Regions from separate parts of the Homo sapiens genome. Here regions 1 and 2 are each linked to region 3. The links are contacts of gene promoters, found by promoter capture Hi-C in blood cells and fetal thymus (Javierre and others, 2016). All regions are on one chromosome and are shown on one strand. The core of a region is centred on a gene start or on the middle of the fragment in contact, and the rest is flanking DNA. Distances in the headings are between cores, read along the strand shown.

Region 1 (3,977 bases), core at 719-3,218, 1.3 Mb before region 3:
TGAAGGATTTCTAAGATGGAAATAAAGTTTGCTTTTAGTGGCAAATGGTATTTGCACCAATGTTTTTTACAAGGTATCCTGGGAAGTTCTGAAAGCCAGTATTACAAACTTAATTAGAATAAATATCAAAGTTTCTCCTAATTATGAAGATAAGAATTTGTGGAAGTTATCAAAAAACTAGATTTTAACATAGTCTGTACTGACTGACCTTCCTGATGGATTCATTTGCATGTATGTTTATATATATATGTGTGTATCTATAAATTATATACACGGAAACACGTGGCTACCTATATACTTCAGCTTTTATATTTATATTTGCTTTTTAATAAAATTATTTGGAGAAAGAAAATAATGGTTTCTGAGAGGAATCACTTTAAAACAATGTAATGAGTATATAAACTTCTAAAGGGAAGAAACCAGCCAGATCAATTCCATTTCTTTCCAGTAGGTATGGCATGAACTAAGGTATAAATTGTAGGTGAGCTTGTTGTACCCTCACCTCTAGCCCCTAATGTCGTAAGATCATCCTAGTATTTTAGAAAACTCTTCGTGATGACAAAAACATGGTCTTTATTATTCAGTGTGGCTCTAAAACATTTTAAGTCTCTTTAGTATTTATATTGTATCATGCTATGTTATGATGTTCCCATGTAAGGCAAGAGGTAGGAAAATAAGGCTGCTGCAAAGCAAGGATTTTTACCTACTTATAAACATGAGGATAGCTCTCTATCACTTTGGAGTGTTTTTCCTCCTATAACTTGCAGTAATACAGTGATTAATTAGTGGACACAAATCTTAAAAAGGGGTTGTTGAAATGGAAAAAGTCAAATCTTACCAGATTTTATTTTCTAGTTTTAAAATATACATATAGTCAAATGAGAATATTTCAATATTGATGTTGACAAGAAACAATTCTGAATATATTTATAGTATAACATGGCATAATGAAACACCTTAAAATGTAGATTTTGGATACACCTTATAGAAGAGGCATAACTGATTCTTTTAAAACCTTTCTGTTGTTGCTTTTCAAATTAGAATATTTTGTCCTGAGTATCTGTCAATAGAGCTATATTCTGTATATATATCAATTGACAACTTTCCCCTCAGCGTTATTATACTATCTCCAGATTTCTCTTATTATTGATTTACTTTTTAAAACTGTCCTTATTGCCCATATTAATTGCTTTATGCCTTATCACTATTCAAGATTATTTATACTGCTCTTTACCCTCTTATAATGGTATGAGTGTTTAAAATTGAGTTTGTTACTTTCATAATTATTTCTGATTTTACAATTTTGAATTTTATCTTTATTAAAAACATGTTTTTAAAGAAAAATGATTCACGAGGAAGGCACGTTAAATATGATTATTTTCTGTGTGGATTAACTTGAGATTTTTCCCTATGTTGGTTATTAAATTGGAAAACATGAAAGATATATTATCTCAAGGAATATATATATATAATGAATATCAGTTTTCAAATCATCACACACTGTTCTTCTGGATAAAATATTAGGGGGGAAAATTCACCTTTCCATTCCATTCAGAGTAAAACAAAGTAGAACAAATAGAAGAAACTATGAAACATTTATTTTATATATTTAATTAACATTGTAGGCATATGAAAATTTAAGAATTTAAAATATTAACCATGCTGACTCAAGATTTGATAGTTAGACGATTTTTAAAAAACATATCTTGTTTGTTTTACCTTATAGATGAAAAGAAAGTTGGACCATGGTTCTGAGGTCCGCTCTTTTTCTTTGGGAAAGAAACCATGCAAAGTCTCAGAATATACAAGGTAATATTAAATATAATGATTATCTCATGATTCTCAGTTTTTTAGAGTTGATTCTGAAAGTGTTTTAGTTTATTCTTGTAGAATAATAATGTTACTAGTACGGTTGACTGTTTAACACATTTTGAGATTACCGGAAATTGAGAACTATATCATTTTAAATAAGAGGAATGCCACCTTAGTTTATGTTTTGTTACTAATACATTTTGAAGTAGGACACAAGCAGAAATTATCTTGTGAACAAAAATTTAAAATTACAATTTTTAAGGAATTCTAAAAAGTAAACCATAAAATATGAATATGAGCCCCTGTGTCTTGTTACTATAGGAACAGCTGTTCTAGGGTAGACATTTATGTATGGAAATTTGAAGATACATTTATTAGCAGTGAAGTAAAACAATTACTAACTCAATCTTATTTCATGAAATTAATGTGTTAGAAATTTTCTTTTATGGGCTTGGTAGGTCTTAAGTTTTTAACACATACATTTCTTTTCTATACCAGTAGAATAGTTTCCATAACAATGAAACATAATTGTAATCTTTTTCTACTTCAGTCCCCATTATTTTTGGATTTTACATCAGTATAAAACTTTTCCCACTCTCACAGTTATTAGGCTAACTTAAGCACAATGTCTATTGCCCAGCCAATTAAAAGTGGCTTTGAATGTCACTTGGAATGTCGTATTTTAAAATTTAAATGACAGAAGTATCTTAGAGCTTTTTTTTTTGGTCTTTAAAACAGAATTTTTTGTATAATTGCCAGTTTTTAAAATAAGTGATTGAAAGTTAACAGTAGAAACCATAAGAACTTCATGGTTATGACATTTCTTCCTTTCTCTCAAAATATTTCAATTTAGTTATTTTTATTCTATAAGATGCACTAAAATTAACATTGCTCAGATATAATTTTTTTATTGAACATTGTTGCAGATTGTGCCTCTTACAGAGAAATAGCTTGTTTTTATTTCAGTTGTAAAAAATATTTCTTTCAAATGCTGCTTTATGAAATTTGAAAATCATCATAATTGGAATAGTCTTACATTCAAAAAGTGAAGAGATAACACAGAAAAGAAAAATAAAGCTATCTCTTATTCAGGAGCTGCTTTTCGGTGTGATTTTTCTTATGTTAACTGTCCCCCTTCCTGTTACTCTTTGCCTTTTGACAGTTTTACTGTGTTTTGGCACTTCCACCAGAGGGTGTGGAGGGATAGAGAGACAAGTGAAACTATTCACTTCATTTTGCTTTTCCCTTCTAGTCATGATAAAGTATTTCTTGGATGAGAAATTTGCATTTAATGTTAAACTAACTGTTAATGCTATTTTTTAAATGTATCAGTCTTCTATTAATATGGCTGATACCAGGACAAAGGTATTACATTGTTCACTTGTTTTTAAGGCAGCTTAGAATAAATGAGTGCTGAATTTTTATTACAGAACACATTTTAGTAAAATTTGTCTTTAGTTGCTCACTTTTTATATTGACAAAGCAACTGAAAAGGCAGAAGTTTTATTTTTAGCCTGTTAATATATAATTTTATTAAAGCAAAATTAGACCAAACAGCATATTTATTTCCATGTTTTTCTGGAGACTCTCGGTTAGGAAGGTATATATTTGGTATTTTGTGATATTTTTGACAGATTTGCTAATAAGATAAAACTATGATTTTTCCATCAAAAATTTGTTATAAACATATCCTATTTTATTTTGGAGGAAAAGAAAATAGAACTTACCTTTGAATTTGAAAGAAGAAAAGATAGATTTAATTGCTGAATGTTAAAGATTGTCTTCGATTTATACTATTAGAGGATTTAAAGGGAGTAGATAAGAAGACTTTTCTGTAAAATCTGGTGACTGAGATACATTTTTTAACAAAATAATGCTGGATAGAAAAAAACAGCTGGAGGAGTTGTTTCATTAGTAATTTATCAGAGTTTGATTGTTAACTATTACGATGCAATTTGTAAGTGTTCTTTGAATTTAAAATAATTAATCAACATAGCTCAATGAATTGAGTGAGAATTTCTTTTCAAATATAATTTTGTTAAACCAGACCTTCCTGCTGCTTTTTTTCCAAGGTCTTTAAAATGGATACCCAATATTTACCTTGAGTTTAGTTTAATTACATGCAGAAATTAGAAAGGAAAGTTTAATACGTTAGTAATATAGTT
Region 2 (3,994 bases), core at 1,055-3,554, 1.4 Mb before region 3:
TCGGCTCACTGCAAGCTCCGCTTCCCGGGTTCACGCCATTCTCCTGCCTCAGCCTCCCCAGTAGCTGGGACTACAGGCGCCCGCCACCGCGCCCGGCTAATTTTTTGTATTTTTAGTAGAGACGGGGTTTCACCTTGTTAGCCAGGATGGTCTCGATCTCCTGACCTCATGATCCACCCGCCTCGGCCTCCCAAAGTGCTGGGATTACAGGCGTGAGCCACCGCGCCCGGCCGGTAATGATTGATTTTTTACCCCCAGTTATTTTTAAAGAATTGGCAAGGAAGGAGAGGGGTATGAATCTAGAAGATAAGAATGTAGATTTTGTAATTCATGATCATTATTATTACCATGTATTGAATGTTTACTGTATGTCAGGAACTGTCCTAAGGATTTTTACAACCGTTATTTAACTTAGTCCTCACAGCAGTTCATATGAAATAGCTACTGATGTTTTATGGCAAAGGAAACAAATTCAGAGAAATTTCCAAGAACACATCGGAATTTTGACTTGCAGAACTGGGATTCAAATCTAGATCTGTCATACTCCATGGTCTATGCTTTTAATCATGCATGCTGTCTCTTAAGTTTTTATTGAAAATGGAAAGTTGTACTGACATAGGAGGGGAAAATGATAGAAAATCATCCTATTGGAAGGCAGATTAACAGACTCGTGAAGAAGCAATTCCCAGTTTTATGTCATTATACAAAATAATTGTGAAATTGAAGTCCGTCATTTGAATTGATTTGCATTAACCCTCATTTTTTAGTCTTGCTCTTGGAATCATCATCAGGACAGGTGTCCCAGATATGTTAGCAGTAGAATAAATTTATCTAGGCAAAATCTGTCTAAGATTATGGAGAAAACTGATTTTATATGTGAAATGTGTTGTTGAGTGAGAGTTAAATCTTTTGAAGGAGATTATTTCAGGATGAGCCTCAAATACATTATTTAGGATTTGAAAACCTATGGTTTAGCAGAAAATCTGAGAATCAACATTTGTTAGTCTCTTGGGTATAAATTGCTTAAGTCAGTGGGTATCTGATTATTCTTTCTTTCTTTCTTTATTTATTTATTTATTTATTTTTGAGACAGAGTCTCACTCTGTAGCCCAGGCTGGAGTGCAGTGGTGTGATCTTGGCTCACTGCAAGCTCTGCCTCCCGGATTCACGCCATTCTCCTCCCTCAGCCTCCTGAGTAGCTGGGACTACAGGCGCCCACCGCTACGCCCTGCTAATTTTTTGTATTTTTAGTAGAGACGGGGTTTCACCGTGTTAGCCAGGATGGTCTCGATCTCCTGACCTCGTGATCCACCCACCTTCACCTCTCAAAATGCTGGGATTACAGGCATGAGCCACCACGCCTGGCTTCCCTTATGTAATTTCTTAAACTATTTTTGTTTGCTGATTTGGTGTTTGTAATTTAAAAAAAATTTATTTTTTCTTCTTTTACATACTTTGTAGAACTATTCCCTACCCAGTGAGTTTATTTATAGATATTTCATATTTAATTAATACTGTGAGAACATAGTTTTTATATCTGTATTTTTGTTTTTTCATTAGGATATTTAAAATAATTTTTGTAATTCTGTTACCTTAAAAAGAGCTAAACTTAGATGTTGGCCTTTAAAAATGTTTTGTGAAAGATTTTCTCTTGGTTCCATTTAAAATACTGTATTTGTAACTATAGTTAAATACATTTGAACTTTGCCCTTTTCAGAAATTTTAATTATATGCCTTTATAAAATTTTATCAAAAGTTACATGCAAATACTAAGTATAGAGTGCTGAAGCTGAGCGTGATGGCTTATGCCTATAATCCCAGTTACTCGAGAGGCTGAGGCAAAAGGATTGCTTTAGGCCGGGAGTTGGAGACCAGCCTGGGCATCATGGCAAAACCTTGTCTCTACAAAAATAAAATAAATTAGCTGGGTGTGGTGGTGTGCACCTGTAGTCCTAGTTACTTGGGAGGCTGAGGTGGGAGGATGGTTTTGAGCGTAGTAGTTCAAGACTGTAGTGAGCCAAGATCCTGCCACTATACTTTAGCCTGGGTGAGAGAGCAAGACCCTGTTTCAAATATATAAATAAATAAAATAGTAGGCTGGGTGCAGTGGCTCATGGCTGTAATCCCAGCACATTGGGAGTCCAAGGCGGGTGGATCACTTGAGGCCAGGAGTTCCAGACCAGCCTGGCTGGCATGGTGAAACCCTGTCTCTACTAAAAATAGAAAAATTAGCTGGGTGTGGTGGTGCGTGCCTGTAATCCCAGCTACTCTGGAGGCTGAGGCAGGAGAATTGCTTGAACCCGGGTGGTGGAGGTTGCATTGAGCTGAGATTGCACCATTGCACTCCAGCCTGGGCGACACAGCGAGACTTTGTCTTGAAGAAAAAAAGAAAAAAATAAGTATTGAGTGCTGAATGATGTTCTATAAAAGATTAAAAATGCCTAAGTGGAACTAAATTCTGGTAAATAGAATTTAGGGGTTGGGGTAGAAAGAATCAGATAAGTACTTCAAGATTTTCAGACTTTAAGTCTAAGGCTCATTAGTATCCTCTGACATAATCTACTACAGGTTTCCTTTCTTAGAAGTGAATGTTAATATGGCACCACTATACAAATAATATCGATATCGGTATTTGAGTGTTTATTATGTGACAGGCACTGTTCTGTGTCCTTCATGTGTATTACCTCATCCAGTCCTCACGATAGCTCTATGAGGTAAGTGTTGTTAATATCCCTATTTTATAGCTGAAAATTTGGCATAGAGAAGTTAAACATGGTCAAGGTCCCACCTTTAGTTAATAGTGGAGCTGGGATTGTTTCCAGGCAGTCTGGCTCTAGAGCCTGGGACCTTAATCTTTATTCTATACTGTCTGTGTCATCTGTAAATTTATTTCTTATATATTATTTATAGAACAGTGCCTGGCACACAATAAGAGCCATAGAAGTACTGGCTATTTTCATTGGCATTTAATTATATATGAGGTTGGCAGAGCATGCATTATTATTCCATTTGTTTATTTATACTATTAATTAGATAGTAGACTTTATTCAGATTTCTGTGTTTCCTTTTTTTAAATAGTCGAGTTTACCGAAGTTCTTAGAAACTGGATGATTGCCTCCAATAATGTGGCCATGCTAGATCTCAAAATTAACTTTTTTAAAAAAACCACCCCTCCAACTTTATTTACACTTCCTTAGAAATGGATAAAGACCAAGATTGGGCTTCTGTTTTGATATGTCATTGGTTTAGAAAGGCAGAAACAGCCTGGCACGGTAGCTCATGCGTATAATCCTAGCACTTTGGGAGGCTGAGGCGAGTGGATCGCTTGAGCTCAGGAGTTCGAGACCAGCTGGACAACATGGCGAAACCATCTCTACTGAACATACAAAAATTAGCTGGGTGTAGTGGCACTTGCCTGTAGTCCCAGCTACTTGGGAGGCTGAGGCAGGAGGATTGCTTGAACCCAGGAGGTCGAGGCTGCAGTGAGCCAAGATGGTGCTACTGCAGTCCAGCCTGGGTGACAAAATAAGACCCTGTCTCAAAAACAAACAAAAAAAGCGGAAACAACCATACTAAGTTTACAGTATTGTTTGTGTGCCTACTTGGTGGAAGAAATAAATTCTTAGAAGTTACACTTTCTTTAAAAAATTAAAAATTAAAAACTGTGCAGTGTTGAGATTAGTATTACCGCTTATCTTGCTGACTTGTGAAATTGAATTACATCACTTATAATAATGTGAAGTTTTAGAAATTGTTTTGATGATAAAGAGTAGCAGCCTTTAAGAGAAATAATATAAACCATGTTTCCTCAAATCTAAATGGTCATCTGTATGGTATTAGTTTTCCATCGCTCTACAGAAGCAGTCCCCAGCCTTTTTGGCACCAGGGACCATTTTTGTGGAAGACAGTTTTTCCGTGGATGCGGGGAAGGAGAGGCAGTGGGGAATGGTTTGGGATGAATCATCAGGCATTAGGTTCTCTTAAGGAGCACCTA
Region 3 (4,349 bases), core at 1,793-4,292:
CCAGGTCCTCTCAACTGCCCTCCCTCCTCCTTTCTACCCTCCATTAACACTACCACTATCTTGACGGCATCCAAACCCACATCCATTGCATATACATATACCCCTTTAAACAGCTCATACCCCCTCAAGTGTAAAACTACACCAGAGGAAAATAGGTCTGAGAGGATCCATGGTATTCTATGGTATGAACACATCTACAGTGATTATGTCATTTTTCAAAAAACTGTGTTGTAAATAGGTGACTGCTATAACTCTAAATGCACACTTTGAAAGACGTCTTTTATGTTCCAAACTAAAGCCATGCTGATGATTAAATACCCAATTTCAGAGCTAAAATATAATTAAAAACCCCTAGTTAGTGGTCATATTATTGCCTAAATTGAAAAAACAAAAAACATCTTGGGTAGTGATGAAAACTGATTTACCTTGTTTGCATTTTGTAAATTTTATACCTTAGTATAAAAAAAAACTAATCAAATACAATTTACAGCTAAGGGACCTTAAAATATTTCTAGAAATGTAAACCATAAAGCCTTAGAGGAATGTCAGGATAAATATAATGGTATAATCAGTATGTATCATTTGGGACTGAAACATTTTGTCATCATTCATTCCCACATACAAAATATTCGAACTGTGCCAGGTGCAGTGGCTCACACCTGTAATCCCAGCACTTTGAGAGGCTGAGGCGGGCAGATCACTTGAAGTCAGGAGTTCGAGACCAGCCTGGCCAATATGGTGAAACCCTGTCTCTACTAAAAATACAAAAATTAGCTGGGCGTGGTGGCGGGTGCCTGTAATCCCAGCTACTTGGGAGGCTGAGGCATGAGAATCCCTTGAACCCAGGAGGAGGAGGTTGCAGTGAGCAGAGATGGCGCCACTGCACTCCAGCCCGGACGATAAGAGACTCAATCTCCCAAAAACAAAAAACTCCCACAAAATATTCCAACTGGATAGTTAGCCAGACACATCTGAAATATTTTCATTTCATCCTCACAATTCAATAAAATGACACTCTTATCTGCACTTTACAAATAAAGAAACCGAGGCTTAGAAAACAAGTTACTTTCCAACGAGAACACAATAGGCAAATGGAGCCCAGATTTTAACCTCACTCCAGAGGCTCTGCCACAATTATGCTCTACTGCCACAGTTAATCAACATTCACTCAATTCTGAGGTCAAAAAACATCCTTAAGACAGGCAAAACCGCCCACCTGCACCTAAACGTTCCTCAAAAAACCACTAATCTATGCAGCAAGAAAATCTGACTTTGATGATACACCACTATTAAATCTTAGATTTAAATAGTAAGTAAAATATGGTGTGGCAACCCCAGAGTTAGCACTCAACAACGGCAAGAAAACAAAAATTTAAAATGAACTTTGTGGACATTTCACTGGTCTCAATAAATAAATAAAATGAACTTGCTCCTTCCAGTCATCAAACCATGCTATCCTTGGTCAAACACCCATAGCACAACCACTCTAAGGAACTTTGGGTCTCACCTGCCATTTTTTGACCATGGAACACATTTTGTCACGGGTAAGATCCATGCCATGGAAGTTAGTCAGGCAGTTTTTACCCTGAACATCTTCAGTAATCAGCTTGAATTTTCTAAATGCAACTTCATCATTCTGCAAATCAGCAAGACTCACTTCAAACACACGACCCTTGAGACCATCAGATGCAATTTCTACAAAAGAAAAAAACAAGTATCTTAACATTTAGGAACCATATAAGCAAAGTCAAGCCTGTAAACTGAGGGTAGAAATTAAGTTAATGGTAAATTATAAAGACCTTAACCTTTGTTATCAAATCTATCCAGACACCAGTGACTTATCAACAGTACTTATTTGAAGCTCAGAACTACCCATGGCACATTTTCTTAATTCAAAAAGCACCATCTTGCTTCTCTCCAAGTGCTGTACTAAAAATGATCACCACAGGTGCCAAGGCTGCAACCAAGAGCTGACATTTCCTTAAAGTCTCCCACCACAGGACCAACAACAGACCAAGATGCCTGCTACAATATACAAGCGCCAACTTAAGGAAAATACAAACCAAGAATAAGCTACTTACTGGTTCCTTGGGTCCTGGTGACGAGCGTCTTTCCAATATTTCTTATATTGAACATAGCAGGTGCTTTCACATCATACCAATCTTTCTTAGAAAATGGATCAACCCTGGATTTTAAGAAGATGCTTAAGTTCCATTGCAGATCAATTCTTACTGTATTTTTCACTGTTAATGGTATTTCCCATTAATATTTTAAAAAGCTAACCGGCAATTTGATACCAAAGTATATCTCACAGTGAGGTGAGGGGAACAAACATAAATCTAGCTCTTCCCACTGTACGTTTCACTGCATGCATCAGACTTTGAAAGGTTATGTCCACTTCCCACCCTCATCGGTCCATCCACTACACAGGCACTTAGAATAACATGCATCGGTCCTTCCACTACACAGGCACGAGTAACATGCAATCTCATTAACTTTGCTGGCACGTAATGGCATGTACTGGTAACTAAGAGACTGCATGGCCCCAAAGCTTAGCAGGAGCTCGCAGATTCCAGCGGGACCAAGCAAAGGCGAGATTGACGGGTCCTGAATGGATAGAAGGGTGCTTTCCTCAACTCCTGCTGTCGCAGTGCCATCAAACACTCGCAGAATTGAGGCAGCTCGTGAGCCCACAAAACTAACATTCCAGCCGAGTCGCGCCGGCAAGCCGGCTCAAACGCGACGCGCGCAAGGACCAGAAGGCCTGGGAAAGGCAGCCGACCTGCCGCTACTCAACACCGACCCTCCAGGCCGCGTTCCTGGGTGCACCAACCCGCCACGGCCCGCACAATCCGACTGGAATCCTCGCCATCCGGCCTACGCCGCGATCTAGGACCAGCCCGCCGATTCCAGCAGACCCCCAAAAAGCAAGACGCCACGACAGTCGCGACTTACACTTTCTTCTTGGCTCCCTTTTTGCCGCCTTTCGTAAGGCGCTTGTTCTTGCCAACCGCCATGGTGCTGGTCAGAGAGCCAAAAGGGCGGAAGTGGGAGTCGCGCGAGAACTTAGGCGTACGGGGGCGGGGCGCGCCGTCTACGTGACCTTTGCCCTGTTATTCTTCCGGCCTCAAGAATTCCGGGACAGTAGAGAGCGCCACTCTTTCTACTGTGGTTGCGACATCGCCATCGTGTGTGGGGAGGCCGCGCGGCATGCCGCGGGCTCACTGGAGGCTGCGCTGTGTAGACCAAGGCGTCGGTGGCCTGACGTGCAGGCGTCTGGTTACCTGTGGTTTCTGTGGCTGTGACGTCGGGAAGTAAGTTTCTGTAAAACGAGACGCCCACTCAACATCGTTCAAAGCTGAACTCACCGTCTAACCCCCAAACCTGCTTTTTGAGAGCATTGGCTTTGGAGTCAGTCAGCGGATCTGATTCAAATGCCGGTTTCAACAGGGCTTTGCTTGAGACCGACCTCTCCACGCTTGTTTCCTCATGCGTAATATGGGGGTGATAAAACGGTCGGCTTCATGAGGTTTCATAGGGCTAAATGAGCATCACTCCAGAGATGCTAGCGACGTTCTGCTTGTTGATGTGGATGCTGGTTCATCTCAGGTGTTGTTGCTTTGTGAACATTCACTAAGCTCTACGCTTATTTGTGTCCTTTTCTATATGTCTGTTATATATTGATTAAAAGGTTTTTTTAAAATAGAGTGAGACCGAACTCGTTGGCTCACACCTGTAATCCCAGCACTTTAAGAGGCTGAGGCAGGGGAATCAACTGAAGCCAGGAATTGGAGACTAGCCTGGGCCACACAGCCAGACCCCGTCTTTACAAGAAAATGATAAAATTAGCAGGGCGTTGGCCGGGCGCGGTGGCTCACGCCTGTAATCCCAGCACTTTGGGAGGCTGAGGCGGGCGGATCGCCTGAGCTCAGGAGTTCGAGACCAGCCTGGCCAACATAGTGAAACCCCGTCTCTACTAAACATACAAAAAATTAGCCGGGTGGGTGCCTGTAATCCCAGCTACTCGGGAGGCTGAGGCACGAGAATCTGAGCTCAGGAGGCGGAAGTTGCAGTGAGCCGAGATCGCGCCATTGCCTGGCCAACAAGAGTGAAACTGCGTCAAAAAAAAAAAAGTGAGATCTCCAAATGTTTCCATTTTTGCAACTAATCCAAACCCGCCTCCCCCATTTTTTTTAACTGTAGGGGTTAACAGAGCACATCCTGGCAAGGTGTGGCTGGCTAGCTCAAGTGTGCAGCCCTCGGAAAGCATCTGGCCCATACAGGCTTGGTACTCAGCCAGTGGTGTGTTGAGTTCCCTTCTCTAACTTCCCCTCTGGCAGAAAACCCTG

Evidence for each region. Contacts are between HindIII fragments. The CHiCAGO score rates a contact against its expected background, and 5 or more counts as called.
Region 1: a fragment that was not itself captured here is called in contact with the fragment with the promoter of RPS3A in region 3 in 1 of 17 cell types (fetal thymus); the score reaches 5.7 in fetal thymus.
Region 2: a contact is called between a fragment that was not itself captured here and the fragment with the promoter of RPS3A in region 3, in 1 of 17 cell types (neutrophils). The highest score is 6.9, in neutrophils.

The regions. Positions count from the first base shown.
Region 1 is chr4:152,347,874-152,351,850 of GRCh38, reverse strand. FBXW7 (F-box and WD repeat domain containing 7) reads left to right here. Exons shown (of 14, transcript NM_001349798.2): 5 at 1,727-1,809. Among named protein-coding and RNA genes, the nearest start is that of FBXW7-AS1, 12 kb to the right of the region's middle. The HindIII fragment of the contact is 4,803 bases long and covers 1-3,977 here.
Region 2 is chr4:152,516,390-152,520,383 of GRCh38, reverse strand. The region is part of intron 2 of FBXW7 (F-box and WD repeat domain containing 7); the gene reads left to right. Among named protein-coding and RNA genes, the nearest start is that of FBXW7, 18 kb to the left of the region's middle. The HindIII fragment of the contact is 5,926 bases long and covers 1-3,994 here.
Region 3 is chr4:151,098,321-151,102,669 of GRCh38, reverse strand. It overlaps RPS3A (ribosomal protein S3A), which reads right to left and starts at 3,042. Exons shown (of 6, transcript NM_001006.5): 1 at 2,956-3,042; 2 at 2,082-2,185; 3 at 1,508-1,695. The coding sequence starts at 3,017. It overlaps SNORD73B (small nucleolar RNA, C/D box U73B), which reads right to left and starts at 613; the gene lies at 539-613. RefSeq lists enhancers at 2,119-2,702, 2,723-3,282, 2,703-3,287, 2,586-3,785, 4,063-4,132. The HindIII fragment of the contact is 1,842 bases long and covers 2,554-4,349 here.